2 separate regions of the Homo sapiens genome follow, and region 1 is linked to region 2. The links are contacts of gene promoters, found by promoter capture Hi-C in blood cells and fetal thymus (Javierre and others, 2016). All regions are on one chromosome and are shown on one strand. Each heading gives the region's core, a stretch centred on a gene start or on the middle of the fragment in contact. The rest is flanking DNA. Distances are from core to core; before and after follow the strand shown. Region 1 has its middle 34 kb from the start of NCOR2. Region 2 holds the start of NCOR2 (nuclear receptor corepressor 2).

The links. The method cuts DNA at HindIII sites, captures the fragments that hold promoters and counts their contacts. A CHiCAGO score of 5 or more calls a contact.
Region 1: a fragment that was not itself captured here is called in contact with the fragment with the promoter of NCOR2 in region 2 in 4 of 17 cell types (monocytes, M1 macrophages, M2 macrophages and 1 more); the score reaches 11.8 in monocytes.

The regions. Positions count from the first base shown.
Region 1 is chr12:124,600,151-124,603,491 of GRCh38, forward strand. No RefSeq gene overlaps it. Among named protein-coding and RNA genes, the nearest start is that of NCOR2, 34 kb to the left of the region's middle. The HindIII fragment of the contact is 2,658 bases long and covers 345-3,002 here.
Region 2 is chr12:124,566,001-124,568,935 of GRCh38, forward strand. It overlaps NCOR2 (nuclear receptor corepressor 2), which reads right to left and starts at 1,612. Exons shown (of 49, transcript NM_006312.6): 1 at 1,308-1,612. RefSeq lists silencers at 358-457, 658-877, 1,018-1,127, 1,148-1,507, 1,618-1,867 and enhancers at 1,988-2,037, 2,204-2,935. The HindIII fragment of the contact is 7,570 bases long and covers 1-2,935 here.

The DNA of each region.
Region 1 (3,341 bases), core at 424-2,923, 34 kb after region 2:
TGGAGAGGTGTCATAGTAAGTAGCTTGTGCTTGGGGACCAGCCCTAGGATGGAGTACCCACTGCCATTCCCAAGCATGGGACTTTGGGCAAAGAACTTTCTCTCTGACCTCAGTTTCCTCATCTGTAGACTAGGGATAATAATAGAACCCATCTCACTGGGACGTGGTGCAAAGCATCTACCCTGCTGTGTGGTGCTGAGAGAGTGCTCAAGACATGGAAGCCACATGAATTCCACTCCCTCAACAGATAGCAGCATACCTCTCTGAATATACGGTGAGCTCTCTGAACCCCTGAAAGTTTCCCTCAGAAAAACAGGAGTAACCTGATATTTCAGTCCTTACGAAGCTTCTTTTCTCTTGATTCTTTCTCATTAACTTATTTATTATTATTATTATTATTATTTTGGGGGTTGGGGGACAGGGTCTCACTTTTTTGCCCAGGCTGGAGTGCAGTGGCACGAGCCTGGCTAAGTGCAGCCTTATCCACCTGGGCTCAAGCAGTCCTCTCCCTCAGCCTCCTGAGTGGTTGGGACTCCAAGTGCATGCCACAACCCCTGGCTAATTTTTGTATTTTTTGTAGAGACAGGGTTTCACCATGTTGTCCAGGCTGGTCTCAAACACCTGACCTCAAGACATCCGCCCACCTCAGCCTCCCAAAGTGCTGGGATTACAGGTGTGAGCCACCACACCTGGGCCCTATTTTTATTTAAAAAAAACATCAAAGCCTGGTTTAGAACAACTTAAACAAGCATCGAATCCCTTGGAGGGCTTATGAAAAGGGACACTGCTGGGCCCCTCTCCCGAGTGTCCGATTCAGCAGGTTTGGGGTGGGGCTGAAAATCTCATTTCTAGCAAGTTCCCAGGCACGGTTGATGTTGCTAACTCAGGGACCACACTTTGGGAACAACTGGTTTGTCATATCAAAATTAAGCCTCATGGGTCTCAGCCTGCCTAGATGATTTTTAGAAATACAGATGTCCCCCTCTAAGATTTTTGAGTCTGCTGATTTAGGGGTGAAACCTAGAACCATCTATGTATGTTAAAATCTCCCCCAGGTGATTCTAAATACGCTCAGGTGAGAATGCCAGCCTTATCCCGAAACAATCTCAAACTACGCGGCCTAAGATTCCTATAAGTCTCATCTCGGAATCTTTTTTTTTTTTCTTTTTTTTTTTGAGACAGAGTTTCGCTCTGTTGCCAGGCTGGAGTGCAGTGGTGTGATCTCGGCTCACTGCAACCTCCACCTCCCGGGTTCAAGCGATTCTCCTGCCTCAGCCTCCTAAGTAGCTGGGATTACAGGCATGTGCCACCACACCTGGCTAATTTTTGTATTTTTAGTAGAGACGGGGTTTCACCATGTTTGCCAGGACGGTCTCAATCTCCTGACCTCATGATCTGCCCGCCTTGGCCTCCCAAAGTGTTAGGATTACAGGCGTGAGCCACCGCGCCCGGCCTCGGAATCATTTATACAGAGACAGTCAAGAAATGTCATCAGATTTAGCCATTATTCCAGGGGTATGAAGTATTGGATATCACTCTAAACAACCCTTTTAAAGATCGCTTTAAAAAGTAACACAGTACGTGGTTACTTGCTGGAACTCATCAATAATATACACCCACAAAACAAATGAAACAACCAATGTCCTAATTTATGCAAAAGGATATTTGCGGCCTGGGATAAAATTTCCAGTAGCTGCGTCATAGGCAGATTCAAAAAATGTCATGTCTCCAAAGTTCTAGACATGAGGGGAACAGATGGGGCCCACCAAATGCTGTTTGATGACTCAAAGACACCGTGTCAAAGACACAGGCGGCGAGTTGGGAGAACATGATTTTATGAATGTAAGAATGGAACACAAAGAAATGTATCTTAATGTGCTGTGTTACTTATGTCATATGTGACTTTCTTTTTTTTTTTCTTTTTTTGAGACGGAGTCTTGCTCTGTTGCCCAGGCTGGAGTGCAGTGGCATGATCTCAATCTTGGTTCACTGCAACCTCTCCCTCCCGGGTTCAAGTGATCCTCGTGCCTCAGCCTCCCGAGTAGCTGGGATGACAGGCACGCACCACCACGCCCAGCTAATTTTTGTATTTTCAGTAGACATGGGGTTTCGCCATGTTGGCCAGGCTGGTCTCAAACACCTGACCTCAAGCAATCTGCCAGCCTCAGCCTCCGAAAGTGCTGGGATTACAGGCATGAGCCACTGCGCCCAGCTACATGTGACTTTTTAATTCATTGTTTTTTACAGACAGGGTCTGGCTCTGTTGCCCAAGCTGGAGTGCAGTGAAGATCTTAGCTCTGTGAAACCTCAACCTCCTGTGCTCAGGCAACCTTCCCACCTTAGCCTCTCTGGTATCTGAAACCACAGGTGCACACTGTCACTACGCCTGCTTTTTTTTTTTTTTTTTTTTGGTAGAGATAGGAGGCTCCCTATGTTGCCCAATTTTGTACTCCTGGCCTCAAGCGATCCTCCCACCTCAGCCTCCCAAAGTGCTGGGACTACCTGCATGAACCACTGCGCCCAGCCAACATATGACTTTAAATAGGCATAAACAGGCATGTGTAACTCTACCACTAATATAAATGTGCAAGTGAACTTTGGACTATGCATACGCCCCCACCCAAAGTTTATATGTAAGTTTACCAAAAACATTGAGGGAGGTCCCTTCCCATTGGTGAAATGAGGGAGCTGACTAACATTTGGGGATACCTCACAGTTTTGGCAGCACAAAGATAAGCAAGACAGAAGAGGTCTCTGCCTCCAGGAAGCTGACGTTAGAGGGAGAGAGACAGTGAATACAAAATATGATGCTGAGGGCCACAAGGAAAGATGGAGCCGAAGGAAGAGGATGAAGGAGCACCAGGGAGGGGCTGCAACATGGGGACATTTGCAATATTCGGACAGAGACCAGAATAAGGAGAGGAGCTGAGCCTGTGAGTGTCTTGGGGGAGAGAAGACTTGGTAGCAGGAACTGCACGTACGGAGGTTCCGAGGTCAGAACAAGCTTGCAACGTCCAGGAAACGACAAGGAGGCTCGTGAGGCCAGACCACACTGGGAGATGGGGACAGTGGCGGTGGCCAGGTCTCAGAGGGCCTGGGAGGCCGGAGAGGGAGGTGGGTTTTATTTATTCCCATGGATCTGGTGTGGTCCCTTTGGGCTCGGTGGGAGGTAACTGCTCATCATTCTACATCTGGGACCTCTGTCCACAGCTGGGTCCCATGTGCCCCTCCAGCATTCTCAGGGCCTCCAGGAGGGAAGTGTTAATGCTTCCCCTTCTCCGTCTGCCTCTTACCCTTCTGTCTCCACTGATGAGCAGCCAGGGCAGGGAGGGACTGCAGCA
Region 2 (2,935 bases), core at 362-2,861:
CAAAGCTGCCGCAAGGACCCAGATCTGGCTGAAAAGGGGCAAAGTCAAGGCCACCGGTAACACATCCCAACGCGCCCAGAACTCCCCCACCCCGCCCACAGGGTCCTCCCCTTATCCCCTCCTCCCCTCTTCCCTCCCTCACACATCCTTCCTCCAAATCTGCAAAAAGGGAAAAATAATAATAATCACAATAAAACCAGTTCTCACCAACGGGGGAGAGGAGGAGGGGGAGGAAGGGAGGAGGCTGAGCCGACAGAACAGATCCGCCCCCGCTGCCTGCACCAGACCCTCGGAGAGCCGGAGCGCGCGACAGGCGGCGGGAGGACACTCGCTTCCAAAAAAATAAACCTACAATGTAAAAATAACGCCGGGCGCCCCACGCTAATTGGGCCCGGGCGACAGCAGCTCCCAGGTACAGCCTGTCTCTCCCTCCCGCCCGCCGTGCCCTCCCGCCCTCGGCTTGCTCCTCCTGCAAGTGTCTGGGGCGGGGAGGGCGTACCCCACGGGTGCCCTCACTCCCCGCAGGCCTCTGAGGAAGCTGCCCTCTAGACAAGGGTCTGGGTCTTCCCAGTCGTGCCCAAGTGGGATCAGCTCTGAATTCCAACTTCGCAAAGTAGTGGCATCCCAAGTATCCGCACAGCCCGGGGGAGGGACTAGGAGGCGGCCCAATGAGGCGTCACCAGCCACGGGAGGCAGGCCCAGACACCAGGAACACCGGCCCGCGGGGGAGGGGGACCAGGGGCGACTCTCCCGAGGGACCCCGCCCAGCGCCCCGTGGCCCCACGCCTAGGAGGGACAAGGCTGGCTCTCCCCCTCGGCTGGTGAGAGACCCTCATGCGCCCCTCCACAACAGCCAGGCCAGGGAGCTAGGGGTACCATCTCCAAGGGCTTTCAAACCCGCGCTGCCCGATGGAAAATAAGGCGCAGTGTCGCCCCGCCAGGTCCGGGGCTACACCGGGTACAAGGGACGCCTGGCGGCCAAGTCCCCAGAGCCGGCGCACACTGTGGGGGGCCGCTCTGTGCATTTCCAGCGCGCCCCCCGCCCACCCCAACGCCACTTCCCTCCTTCCCGCCCCCTCGCTAGGGAGCTGGAGTTCCCCTAAGTTCCCCGGCGCCCCCGAGCACGCGGGCCGCAGTGTCGGCGGGGCGCCTTGCTCCCCAGCAGGCCACCCCCCGAGAGCGCCAACTCGGGAGTGCAGGGGCCCCGCCAACTCCGCCGCGTGCGCCGCCCGATCCTCCCCGGATCCCCCGGAAGCGCGCTCCGCGCCTCCCCCCGCCCTTCGCGGGGACCCTCGGCCCCAACTCACCTCGCGGAGGTGGCAGCGGTGGCGCCCGGGCTTGGGGCGCGCTCGGGCCGCCGGGGCGCTCAGGCAAGTGGCGGTGCCGATCGGGCTGGGGGCGCGCAGCAGGCCCGGCCTCGGGTCGGGACGCGATCCTCCCGCCGCCGCCTCCTAGGGCGCCGGCCCTGGGTCCCCGGCCCGCAAGTTGGCGCGCATCGCGGAGCGCAGGGCGCGGGCGCAGGGCTCGGGCGGGGCGCCGGCGGACGCGGGGCTCCGGTGCGGCCCGGCCTGCCCGCGGCTCCGCGCTCCCCGGCGGCCGCGGCGGCGGTGGCGGCGGCGGCGGCGGCGGCGGCGGCGGGAGGGGGAGGAGGGGGCGGGGCGCGAGCCCGGGAGGCGGTGGCTCGGCCTCCCTGCTCCCGGCTCCCCGCCCGCAGCGACGCGCCCCGGCCCGGCCCCCTCTGGCTCCTTAAAGGGCCCGCGCCTTCTCTCCAGGCCCTGCGCGTCCCCACTCGCGCGCGCACGCCGCCACACACACAGACACGCACGCACACACTTGGGCGCGACGCCGAGTTTCTTTTTGGCAGCTCCCCGAGGAGGAAGGAGGGGGGAAGCGCCTCCCAGCCTTCCCCTCCCTCTTCTCCTGCGGGCCCGGGGGCCCTCCTCCTCCTCTCCAGCCCCAGTACCTCACTGGAATCGCGTTTCAGCTATTAAATTATAACTCTGGAGTGGCCGCTGGATGGGGAGGGGGCGCGCAGGGAGGGCCCTACACAGGGCCTTTTAGGAGCACGCCCAGTGGGGCACTTGGGGACGGGAGCAGACAGTAGCGCAGAGCCCTCTCCAGGCAGGAACACGCTGGGCCTCCCCAGACCCGAGACCCAGCCCGGGCGAACACACTGCAGACTCACCACCCACCACGGACCGGAGATGTCAGATCTCACACAGACAAATACTGGGACACCCACGCGAGTTCACAGCACCCCGGAGGACACAGACGCTAGAATGCCAGTTTCCTGAGGGCAGAGATTTCTATTTTGTTCACTGCCCTATCGCAGTAGGGACTCACGAATGTGTTGAGTGAAGTCCCACTTGGGGACATTCAGGGACACAAATGCGGAGACAATGCAACGAGCCTGTGTCCCCCCCGCCCCCCCCACACACACACACAGACACACACATCCCAAAGCGTGACCCTGGGAGCCACACACGCCCGGCCTGCACAAGCACGCAGTCACAGACGGCACACATGTGCTCGCTCCCCCACGCACAGGCAGACACTCTCCGCTCCAGCAGGAACCTGGCCCCCCTGGCCGCCCTGACAACCCAGTGTCCTCATTTACCCCCTCCTCCCACCCCCTCCAGGTTTGCCCTCTCCAACCAGGGCAGATCTCTTTGAACAGCAGAGGGCACTGGGAGCCCTGGGCCTGGAGCCTCCCTCCCTCCCTCCTCTTCTGCTTTCTCCTAAGATGTTGGAGAGTTTGAATTTTTTTTTTTTTTTTCAGTTCAACTTTCCTTTTTTGGAGTGACGTCTCAGCAGATTCAGTTCTGCCATCTGGCAACATCTGAGAACCCCCAGGGAGAGCGGGGAATGGCTGCGGTGGGGAGGCAGCCGCGTGGTTTCCAGAGGCCGGCGGGCCTCCCGCCTCCGCCAGGATGCT